Linked DNA regions of Homo sapiens: all the other regions are linked to region 2. The links are contacts of gene promoters, found by promoter capture Hi-C in blood cells and fetal thymus (Javierre and others, 2016). All regions are on one chromosome and are shown on one strand. The core of a region is centred on a gene start or on the middle of the fragment in contact, and the rest is flanking DNA. Distances in the headings are between cores, read along the strand shown.

What was found. The method cuts DNA at HindIII sites, captures the fragments that hold promoters and counts their contacts. A CHiCAGO score of 5 or more calls a contact.
Region 1: a contact is called between a fragment that was not itself captured here and the fragment with the promoter of BARD1 in region 2, in 1 of 17 cell types (fetal thymus). The highest score is 6.3, in fetal thymus.
Region 3: a fragment that was not itself captured here is called in contact with the fragment with the promoter of BARD1 in region 2 in 1 of 17 cell types (fetal thymus); the score reaches 5.4 in fetal thymus.

What each region holds. Positions count from the first base shown.
Region 1 is chr2:212,719,943-212,723,844 of GRCh38, forward strand. No RefSeq gene overlaps it. Among named protein-coding and RNA genes, the nearest start is that of LINC01878, 73 kb to the right of the region's middle. The HindIII fragment of the contact is 2,927 bases long and covers 495-3,421 here.
Region 2 is chr2:214,807,522-214,811,568 of GRCh38, forward strand. It overlaps BARD1 (BRCA1 associated RING domain 1), which reads right to left and starts at 2,162. Exons shown (of 11, transcript NM_000465.4): 1 at 1,891-2,162. The coding sequence starts at 2,048. SNHG31 (small nucleolar RNA host gene 31) reads left to right here and starts at 2,708. Exons shown (of 4, transcript NR_110292.1): 1 at 2,708-2,911. RefSeq lists enhancers at 1,101-1,150, 1,441-1,520 and a silencer at 2,071-2,640. The HindIII fragment of the contact is 4,673 bases long and covers 1-2,889 here.
Region 3 is chr2:212,736,011-212,740,142 of GRCh38, forward strand. No RefSeq gene overlaps it. Among named protein-coding and RNA genes, the nearest start is that of LINC01878, 57 kb to the right of the region's middle. The HindIII fragment of the contact is 9,709 bases long and covers 1-4,132 here.

The DNA.
Region 1 (3,902 bases), core at 708-3,207, 2.1 Mb before region 2:
AAAATGCATAATCTGTGTTGGCATAAAGGGAGTGACCTCTTTTTAATGTTTGACACTTGACAGCTTTTAGATCCCCAACCTCCCTGCCTGCCCCATATTTGGGCAGCCACATTTAGAGGACCCACATGTGCCAATCATCACCTGGTGCTGGAGGGGAGTTCACATTTCACAAATCCCTAGCCCTTGCTCCAAATTCTTCCCTAACCCACTTCATCGTGTGTCCGGAATTGGTGGGTTCTTGGTCTCGCTGACTTCAAGAATGAAGCCGTGGACCCTCGCGGTCAGTGTTACAGTTCTTAAAGATGGTGTGTCCAGAGTTTGTTCCTTCAGATGTTCAGATGTGTCCAGAGTTTCTTCCTTCTGGTGGCTTCGTGGTCTCGCTGGCTTCAGGAGTGAAACTGCAGACCTTCGTGGTGAGTGTTACAGCTCACAAAGGCAGTGCGCACCCAAAGAGTGAGCAGCAGCAAGATTTATCGCGAAGAGCAAGAGAACAAAGCTTCCACCAAGCAGAGATCGTTACTGCCGCTGACTCGGGCAGCCTGCTTTTATTCACTTATCTGACCCCACCCACATTCTGCTGATTGGTCTGTTTTACAGAGAGCTGATTGGTCCGTTTTGACAAGGGGCTGATTGGTGCATTCACAAACCTTGAGCTAGACACAGAGTGCTGATTGGTGCATTTACAATCCCTTAGCTACACACAAATTTCTCCAAGTCCGCACTAGATTAGCTAGACACAGAGCACTGATTGGTGCCTTTACAAACCTTGAGCTAGACACAGGGTGCTGATTTGTGCATTTACAACCCTCCAGCTAGACATAGAAGTTCTCCAAGTCCCCACCAGATAAACTAGACACAGAGCACAGATTGGTGCGGTTACAATCCTTTAGCTAGACATAAAAGTTCTCGGAGTCCCCACCAGATTAGCTAGATACAGAGTGCTGATTGGTGCATCCACAAACTCCGAGCTAGATGCAGAGTGCTGATTGGCACATATACAATCCTCCAGCTAGACATAAAAGTTCTCCAAGTCCCCACCCCACTCAGGAGCCCAGCTGGCTTCCCCTAGTGGATCCTGCGCTGGGGCCGCAGGCGGAGCTGCTCACCAGTCCGGCGCCACGCGCCCGCACTCGTCAGCCCTTGGGCGGTGGATGGGACTGGCCCCGCGGAGCAGGGGGAGATGCCCGTTGGGGAGGGTAGGGCCGTGTGGGAGCCCACGACGGGGCGGGGGAGGCTTGGGCATGGCGGGCTGCAGGTCTGGAGCCCTGCCCCGCGGGGAGGCAGCTGAGGCCCAGCGAGAATTCGAGCGTGGCACCCATGGGCCGGCACTGCTGGGGGCCCGCTGCACCCTCCGTAGTTGCTGAACCAGGTGCTAAGCCTCTCACTGCACGGACCAGCAGCGCCGGCCTGCCACTCTAAGTGCAGGGCCACTGAGCCCGTGCCCACCCGGAACTCGAGCTGGCCTGCGACCGCCGCGCAGCCGGGTTCCGCCTGCGCCTCTCCCTCCACACCTCCCTGCAAGCAGAGGGAGCCGGCTCTGGCCTTGGCCAGCCCAGAGAGGGGCTCCCACAGTGCAGTGCCGAGCTTCGGGAAGCTCGGCCAGAGTGGACGCCATGGCCTGAGGAGGTGCCAAGAGCGATCAAGGGCTGATAGCACGTTGTCATCTCTCAATAGCTATTATAAGGGCCCAGTCCACTCTCTCTCCTTGGTTGTTGTTTACCTCTTGACTAAATTTATAGACTTTCTTCTTTTAGACTCCCTCTTCTATTTACTATGTACACTTCACTTCATATCCATGGTACCTATGTGTCCATCATCTCAACATCCACAAATTCCTGAGGCGGGGATTACTCAGCATCCGGCAGGGATGAGGACAGCAAATAAAATAAGGGAAAAAAAAAAGTGGGGACTCAGTAAATCCAACTTGAGCTGTGTTGAGAGTTGTCAAATTAAGAGATCTACATAGGCATTCATGATCTTCCAGATTTCTCAGATTGATTACAGCAGCCATGGGGACTTTGACCAGACCACGCTCCAGAAAGCAAGTACTGGCCTTAAGTTTATTCTAGACTTCAGGACAGAAGAAGGCATAAGTAAAATGCTTTTCAAAACCAAGGTCCATCTTAAAGCCAGAGGTCAAGGAAAGGTACTGCAGTCGTCAAATAAGATACCTGGAGTTAGGGGCAGCTTGCTTAGACAGAAGTCAATGGAGAAAGCAGCTAACAGAACCTGTAACTGGAGAGTAAGAGAAGAGACTGTCATGTTCAGAATTTCACTCATACAATACTAGAGATGAGCAAGTCACCATAGGCATTAAGCAATCAGTATTTAATAGAATCAAGCACAAACCTGTTGTAAAATTTCCTTTCATTGAAAACCTAAAGTACCTTCTAGAGGTTTTTTTTTACATCTTTTCTTTTGTATTGTGATAGAATCTGTTTGTGTATGGACCAAGGCAACAGGGAACCTGGGAAGGAAGGTAGGGCAACAAATGGCAAAGAGGGATTAAACAACAACAAAAATTTCTGGTCCCTAGCCACTTGCACCTGGTGGAGAGTGTCAAGAAAAACCACAGATTTATACCTGGAGCTTTGCAAATTAAAAAAGATATATTAATTCTTTCAACAAATATTTATTGAGTATCCATTACCTGTCAGACAGTTTGCTAGGAGTTAGGGATGCAAATGCGTAGAAAACAGTATTTTCCCTTGAGCAGATTCCACTATCAGGATGAGGCCAGCAAACAAAACTTATAAGTTCTAACCGAGGTGTATATTTCTATGAAAATATAGACAAGGGACCATTTCACTCTACCTGATGAAAATGAGTGGAGAGCCACAACCAAGCTATAAAGAATGGCCCAAGATACCTACAAAACTAAGGCCGATTTCAAAGACAAGGTGTGAGTTTAGAAACTACCGATAGGTAAGAAAATCACGTCCAGACAGATTTCTTTTAAATGTTAAGTATTTCCCATGTGGGGATGGACTGGCATATCAAGACGACTAGTTTAGTGAATTCTGCTGAAACCAGGAAGTATAGAGGACTATGAAAATTAAAACTAAAAATAAATAAATAACTAAATTAAATACTTAAAAATGCGATGGACAAAAACAGTGTTGAATTTGGAATGAGATGTAGAAAGAGATAGGCATTGTTCATTTTAGAGATATCAGTTTACCGATTCAATTTAATGTTTGTTTCTTTCAATCCAATAATTTTCCAAAAGATTAACAAGAGTCCTAATTTGTTCCTTATTCAGCAAGAATTGCAATACAGAGCACTTTAAAAAAAGTATTTCAGGCTCCCTCTCTCCTGTTTTCTCCTTCCGTGACCTCTTGTAAGACTTTGATCATTTGAAAGGAATGTGTGGGTGGTGTGTAACCTTTAGAAATGTTTTTCTGCCAATTTACTAGAGGGAAGCTTTATTTCTCTTTTCTTTTTTTCCCCCTTGCCCTAAGTTCTGCACAAAACCACATCTCACTGTGTTGTGCAAAGCCATTCAGAGACATCCTTGAAAGACTCCAATGAAGAGAGATGGGAGTCAAGGCTGTGAAACCAGACAGCACCCCCTCAAAACCAGATTTCTGTGGCCCCAAAACAATTCTGCCTCTTTATGTGAGATGGCTTGGTGGTTGGTGAGTCATATTACCAGGTGTATTTATAGACAACCCATTTTAAAAATAAATAAATAAATAAATAAAAGCAGTTATTGCCTTTTTAGAGTCTCAGAAGGAGCAAAGAGAATAGCTAAAAGAATGTCTGAAAATTAGAAATGCTGCTATTATTAGAGAGTAGGCTAAGTTCAAAAAACTAAAGAATAAAAGAGTTCATTCAAAAGATAGGGATTCTGGCTGAGTACTCTGTCTAGTCCACAAGATTCTTCCATAGTGGCTTGCACT
Region 2 (4,047 bases), core at 912-3,411:
CCAAACTCAATACTTTACATACATGTAAAATTTCATTTTGTTTCTTCCATAAAAGCTCCCTAAGAGATGGAATTTATTGTCTGCTTTGTTCACTAACAAATCCCCAATACCCAGAATAGGGTCTGGCACTTTATGGGTGCTCAATAAATTTATGATTATTAATGAATCCTCACAAGAAAATAAGCTAATCATTAGTATTACTCATATCCGGAAAATGAGAGATGAATAACTTGGCCTACTCAATAGTGTCAAAGCTAGAACCTGAACTCAGGCATTCTGACCACAGTCTAAGTGAAGCCCGATGCTTCCACATAGGTATGTGCCAAGGGAATGTCTAACTTTCGTTGGACTATCAAGGTGTGAACTATAATGCTTCTGTTATTGCAACTAGCAGTGCCAGTTTTAAATTTCCTATTCTCAGATGACCCATGTGCTACAGGAAAACAAACACACAACTCAAATGTCTTCATGTACTCACTTATCTGAGTGTCACTTTTCTAAGAAGTGCAATGTCATTTTGTCACAGATATTAAAAGTTTTCGTCAAAGAAAATATAAGTGCAAAACTCTGACAGTTAAGTCCTTTTCATTTTTAAAGAAAAAGTTTGGCCGGGCACCGTGGCTCACGCCTGTAATCCCAGCACTTTGGGAGGCAGAGGCGGGCGGATCACGAGGTCAGGAGACGGAGACCATCCTGGCTAACACGGTGAAACCCCATCTGTACTAAAAATACAAAAAATTAGCCGGGCATGATGGCGGGCGCCTGCAGTCCCAGCTACTTGGGAGGCTGAAGCAGGAGAATGGCGTGAACCCGGGAGGCGGAGCTTGCAGTGAGACAAGATCGTGCCACTGCACTCCAGCCTGGGCGACAGAGCGAGACTCCGTCTCAAAAAAGGAAAGAAAAGAAAAAGTTGTGTTACTTATACTTTATGCAACTAGGTAACTTAAGTTCTGCAAGTTAGAAATCAAAGGGGAAAAAAGTCCAAAAAGGATATAAACTTTTGACAGCTACAAATAACAAAAAAACTGCCAGTGATCTTCATACAGAAATACTTAGCTGTACACACAGCAAGTGCTCAATAAAAATGCTTTTCAGAAGAAATGAAAATGAGACAAACCTTTCTTGGGTTTTACAAACCTTCTTGGTTTGTATACTAGAAAGAGCTACACGAAAAAAAGCAAGAAGTAACACTCATGAAAATGTCTTTGGACGGAATGAAAACCCTGAGAGGACTCCCATAATGTGACAGCATGAAGGAAAACAATAAACAGCATCACTAAGAGCGGGGACACCAGACATACAGTCTTTTGAGCAAACTAAGAAAATGAGAAATTCCGTGCCATCTTCAATCTACAACTATGGTAGATATCCGATGCTCCATCCCATCTCACTCGAAAAAGCTGGCACGGAGAAAATGTCAAAAAGGCCAGTTTAACTTAGAGTGGCAGCTGCTTCTAATTTAGAGGGTCTCCGGGGCGGCCCGCCAGCCCAATTCGCCACAGCTCCCGGAAAGCAGCGGGGTAATCCAGGGCCGGGTAAAAAATGCAGAAGCCTCAGCCCCACCCCAGCCCGATTCAAACTCTGGAGGCGCGACCGGGATGAACATTTTTTTAGCCACACCTCCAGACGGTTCTTCAGCCCGCTGAAGTTCAAAAACTACCGTTTCAGTTGGATTCAGGGCAAGGGGAGGCCGGTAAGTCGCCCAAAAATAAAGTGAATGAGAAGCAGAAGTTGTTAATACTATATCCCCCGGCAGGTGCTAACCGCACGCCGACCCGACTGCAGCGCGGGAACGGAAGGAGGAAACGGAAGATTTGAAAAGATTCTGCCGCCCCCAGAAACTGTGCGACCCGTGCCCTCGCAGCCACCCCCAAGAAGCTCCGTCTTTACCAACGCGAGCAGCGCAGCAGCTTCTCCAGGCGGTCGAGCGCGGCGCGACTGTGGGCCCAGGCACCGCGACCATCCGGTTCCATGGCGGGCGCGGAACGAGGCTCGTTCCCGGAGCGGATCCTCGGCTGCCGGTTCCTCGGCTGCCGATTATCCGGCATCGTCCCGCCTTCGGATGAAAGGCTCCTCGCAGAGCGGGAAGCAAGGAAGCCTCGGGAAACCACAGGGAAGCTGCAGGCCAGCGACTCGAAACCGGCCAAGCTCTTCCCGCGTCTGGGACGGCGGGCCGCCAGAGGGGCGGGGCGCGCGGGGAGGGGCGGGGCACGGCGGCCGCAATGCTCCCAAAATAGGGACTCGCAGGGCACAGGGGCGGGGCCGCGAGAGCCAGCCGCTGGCCGAGTGGGCGGGACCTAGGGGTGGGGCTGGAGGCTGAAACTTGCCAAAGTCCCGGCGTGTGGGACTTAGGGGAGGGGCCGCGAGAGCCGTGGGACCGAGGGGGCGGGGCCGGACGGCTGAAACTTGCCAAAGTCCCGGCGCGCGGGTCCTAGGGGCGGAGCCGCGAGAACACGCCGGGGACAGAGGGGGCGGGGCCTAGGAGCCTCGGGGCGGGACAGGACGGTCGAAACCGAAGTCCTGGCGCGCGGGGCCCAGGGGCGGGGCCTAGGGGCCTCGGGGCAGGACAGGACGGCTGAAACCGAGGTCCCGGCGCGCGGGGCCCAGGCGCCGTGCAGTGAGAGCACGCCGCTTGACCGAAGGGGCGGGGCCTGAAGGCTGAGCGCAGTCGCGAGGCTGTAGTTGGCAGGAGAGCGGGCGGGGCCTGAAGCCCCTCTGGGCTGCCTGGACGGATGAAGTCCAGGTGGAAAGCCAGTCGACGTTTCCCGGGAGCTACGACTCCAGGGACCCTCATCCGAGCTTAACCGTTGGAACAATCACAAACCCAGAAACTTTTAGCTGAGTGTTATTTATAAAAAGCGCTGTTTTGACTGCTGTTGGACTTGGAAAAGCTTTGCCCACGATACTGAAGGTACCACTCTTTGTTCCTAAGAAAGCAACCTTTTCTTTCCTCTCACCTCAGCTGTGGCGTATATTGTAACTGAGTAAAAATAAGGAAAGTTTCTAATTCTAACTAGTTAACAAATATCAGCTCAAAGGCATGTCTGAAAAGATCTGGTTTACTTTTAAAATATTGGTATAAAATTTCAAAAAGGGTTTTTTTTGTTAGAGAGTGTGTCCACCTTCCTCCTCCAGATCTTTCACTGATCGCCGTAATTTACAGATAAGACCTACAGAGCAACCCGTCATGCCTTCCTGCCGCGCCCCAAGTTCATTTCCAAGTCCTTGCATTTTTTCCCCCTAACTTGTCTCGAATGCACCCATTTTCTCTCCGTCTCTGCTCCACAACATCCCCAGTTGCCTCGTCCTCGCCTGGTTTCCTGTCGTAGCTTTCTAGCTGATATCCAAGTGTCTATCCAGGTCCCAGCCAGTCCCGAGACTGCGGTGTGGCCGCCTAAAACATTTCCAAACACAAAACTCATCGTGGCACTTCCCTTTCTTAAAACTCCTTAAAGTTTTTCTCTGCTCTTTGACTAGCCTCTTGTCAAAACCTCCTCTGGCCATCATGGTCCCAACCCCACAGTGCGTTCCCTTAGGTCATTAAAAGCCCCTGCACCTTGCTGCCTCATGGCTTTTGCGCAAAGATTCACTTTGGAACCTGGAATTGGCCTCCTCTCCATTCCTCATCCTTCAGAATACAGCTGAAGTATCACTCCTTAAAGGTTTTCCTAGTTCCTAGACTGGATTCTCTCAGGTGCATCATATCACCTGTGTATGTAGATACACACACATACGATTATGTGCGTGTCCCCTTCTAGTTCAAAACCTCCAAAAGGCCAGAGATTGGCTGCATGTGACTCATTTCCCAATATCGCTTCATGTGGCACATGCAGTGCTTGGCTCCAGGTAGGTGCTCAGTGTTTGTTGAATCATTGAACTACCTACCCAAGCCAGACCCAGCTTTAAGTGCTTTCCTATGTTAATACCTGCCTTAAGCCTTATAGGGACCCTATGAAATGGGCATTAGTATCTGTAGTGTCACCCCCAAATTCATATATTAAAAGTTGTAACCCCAACGTGATAGTATTTGGAGGGGACCTTTGGGTG
Region 3 (4,132 bases), core at 1,206-3,705, 2.1 Mb before region 2:
GTTGACTGTGGATAACTGCAACTATGGAAAGCAAAGTTGCAGATAAGGGGGGATTACTATGGTTTGGTGTTAATCTTGGTCAACATAGTGGCTCTGCACCCCAGGGAGGAAAAAGATCTCTGTGTCTCTCTCTCTCTCTCTGTGTGTGTGTGTGTGTGTGTGTGTGTGTGTGTGTGTGTGTGTACATTGAACAGTGCTAACAGAACTAAAAATAGCTTTACCCGTCAGGCCTGAAAAGCACTCAGATAGGAATAAAACAGAGAAAGACAGCATTTTCCTAGAGCAGGAGTGAGGATAGAGTACAGACCAGGACATCCATGAAGGTTTAGTAATATACAGCCATTGATAGTGGAACAAAAGGGGCAGAGGTAAGCCAAGAGTGGTGCACTGATAGCTAGTGGGTTATTGCCTAAGGGAGCTCCAGATGATGGCTTAGCAAACTCAGCAACCAACTGGGCAAAGCCAATAGTGCAGGGAAACTGGAGGTGATAGCTTGAGTAAATTCGCTCCACAGCAGCAACCTAAGAGTCTCTCCAAGGCCATCCAATTGAAAACCAAGATAAAGGTACCTGATAAATGAGTCATTAAATACACTGTGGGCTCTTCTAGAGAAAGCTAGAAAAGAGGAGAAACAGCAAATGTTTGAGGTCTTAGTATCCTTAAGGTATGGGATAAGATTGAGATGGCTGTTTTGAAATTAAAACAAAAAGATATTTTGTTTGAACCTACAAACAGGTGAAGTCTGATGAGATAATTGTTACATATTTAAATATCTCTGTCATAGCAAAAGTTAAGCAAACTTTAATTTCTTTACTTCCTATTATGTTTTTCCTTGCAACTTGTCAAAATAAACAAATAAATTGGCTTCTGTGTGTGTATGTGTGTGTCTCTGTGTGTGTGTGTGTGTGTCTCTCTCTCTCTCTCGTGTGTGTGTGTGTGTGTGTGTGTGTGTGTGTGCTTATCAGTTTCCCTGAGTGGGGTTACCTTTGGTTAAACTAGTAAAATCATTGCTATTTGGACTTTCCAGGCTGAGGATCCAAATCTAAAGTCATTGTAAACCAAGGAACATTCACATCATGGGCATGAGATATCTAGTGAGTCTTCTTTCACAATTTCCCTTTAATTCATTTTCTCCATTTCCTACTGTCATAATCATGATCCAGGCCCTAATTAACTCTCATTTCTCCATCTAATGAACCTTACACACTGCTTCCATTATGCCTTTTCTAATTCCATTACTTCTACCTAGAATGTCTCTAAAACTTACCCATATTGCAAGATCCAGCTCAAATATTACTTTCTGCATGAAAAATGTCCACATCACCCACACACAAATTAACTACTTCTTCCAGGAAGTCTTATAGCAGTTTATTCATATTACACAAATGGGGCTTCTTTACCTCCTTGTGTGGCAGTTTGTGTGTGTGTGGTGTATGTGTTTGTGTGTGTGTTATGTATACTCATTAATTATTTGGAAAGTTCCTAAGGACAAGGACCCCATCTTCAGATCCTAGCACAGTGTCCCTTGCTCACATTAACCTTCCCTCCTAGCCTATTCTCTACGCATCTGAGGCTGTCTGTTGAATTTTTATTGCTTTTTTCTCTCTCTCTCTGGGTGATTCCTAATGCCTATGTAAGCTAGATGTCACATGCATATAATCATGGGAGGCTTGAAAGGGGAAAAGATTTGATTTGCACTAAAACATATATTGTCTCACTCAGAAATGTATTTGTCTTTTCAAATTCCCTAAATTTTAATAACCTTTTCAACTCTTTTCAAATCTTCTACATTATCCATAAGCAGAAAATATAAAATAGTGAAATATAATGAAGATAAATAAGTTTTCCTACTGTTTCTCATATTATTCCCTTTTTAGCTAGAGTTTTTTCACTATTGAAATAATATTTTACAAGCACCATGTTGATGACTCACAAGCATATAATTCAGCATCAATCAAATAAATAAATCAAAGCTAAAGGAGTCATGCTTCAACTTCAATGTTGCAAATTGTGCTATCACCTAACAATTTCTTTTAGCGCCAATTAGTTAACTTAACCATCGCTAAGAGGTATAACTTTTAAAAGGGCCAAACTTTATGGTCTTTCAATAGGCAGGTGCAGCTATGCCACAAAACATTCCATTGGTGTTTGTGCATGCACGAATTCTACAATCTTGCCAAATTCCATTCTACAATTTAAGAAGCCAAAAAAGAGGAAGAAGGAGGAGGAGGAGGATGAGGAGGAAAGAAAAATAAAGAAAATCAAGTTAAACTGATTTCATAAAAGAAAAATATACCTCATAGGCATTCACTCTGGAATAAAACAACTCTCATTCAAGTTTCATTCACCCAATTTATATGATACTTGAGCCTAAGACATCAAAAAAGTCTAAGCTGGCCTCACTCCAGTTACTAGTAAGCATTGTTTACTAGGCATGTAACAATAGTCTTAATATAGTAAGCTCTGGTTTCCTCATCTGGAAAATGGGGATTAAAACTAATGCTTGCTTCATAGAGCTATTACGGGAATTAAATAAAATAATGCACATTAAACAAAAACAGTGTTTAGACCACAGTTTGTGCTAAATAAAGTCAGCTATTATTTTCATGTGATAATAACTATTGCATTTATGCCAATCTGTGTGTATACAAAACCAAAATGAAACTAATGCAAGTACAAATATCAACTATAAATTTTATTCCAGAGACTGATCTGTGAGAAATAAAAAGGTAAAGCCAGCATGGGCCTAATAACCTGCAATGATTTTCTAGGACTCTCTGTATTGCCAGATAAAGATTCAGAAGGTTGATTATTAAGCTACTCAAGGAGATACCAGAGAAAGGTGAAAACCAACTTAAAGAAAAAAAATTTTTAAGTACAGGATATATATGAAAAACTAAACATTTTCAATTTCATATTGGCTTATTTTGGTTTAGAACATATGGATCTACTGTAAATGCTAATCATTTGTTATCTTGAATAAGTTCGGTGTGTAAAACATGTGAGTGATCCTGAGCCCCAGCTGAGGAAATGATATTTGAAATTTCCACAGCGAGTAAAGTTTTAGCAAACTGTGTCTGTGGTATACCTGTGACAAATCAAACTAACGTGTGACAGTAGATTTTAACAACAACTCAAAATGCTATGATCTTGCACTCGGTTCTTTCAGCTACAAACATTAACCTTAGTTCATATCCTCATTTGTGGAAAGTTGTAACCCTATGGATGATCCACTGAGTTTTTCACCTTCTATCTGAGGATGTTGGTGGTGTTCAGGGTAGGTATCTCATAAAGCTCCTAAATGACTTACCGATGGGGATAATAAGCATTTAATAAACAATTTATATTCCTGTTAGTCACACCAATGCCTTTTTAAAAGAGAGCAACTCAAAACCTTAAAAATCAAAACTTCCATTTTCTCTTATTATTAATTGAAATGCTTTCATTAATGGTGATAGAATAATTGGCATTTACTATTTAGGCTGCTAAATGTCCATTATCAAGTGCTGATGAGCTTCAAGAAATTGCCCTTCTTACTGCAGTGTAACCTGAATGCTTTCCACACTTCCATCAGCTCAGATAAGGTGCACCAAATTATCTTTCCAACTACAGTTGTGTCACCTGAATGCAATTAACACCTTATTACGCGTTAAGGCATTTCTACAGGTAATAAATTAGTCATGGCTCAGTACCTTGCAATACTTCTTTAGTACAATACTTGATACACTCACTGTAGGCTATGGAAAATTCTGAAAACAATTAAATTTTTTAAAGCAATACAGAGATGATTTTATATCTGTCTTAGTAATGCTGATTGTACAAGCACTCACAGGGAGGAAAGTAATAAACTGAAGATGTCTCTTTTATGACCACAGAGTTTCTTCTGGATTCGAAGTTAGGTGTGAGAAAGCTGACAAATGTATTTCTAGAAATTTTTAATTAAATTACTAAATAATTCCTTTACTAGTTTTTGCTCCTGCTTTCTTTCCTACACTGAATTTTTTTTTTTCTTTAAGATGGAGTCTCACTCACTCTATTGCCCAGCCTGGATTGCAGTGACTCAATCTTGGCTCACTGCAACCTCCGTCGCCTAGGCTCAAGCGATTCTCCTGCCTCAGCCTCCAGAGTAGCT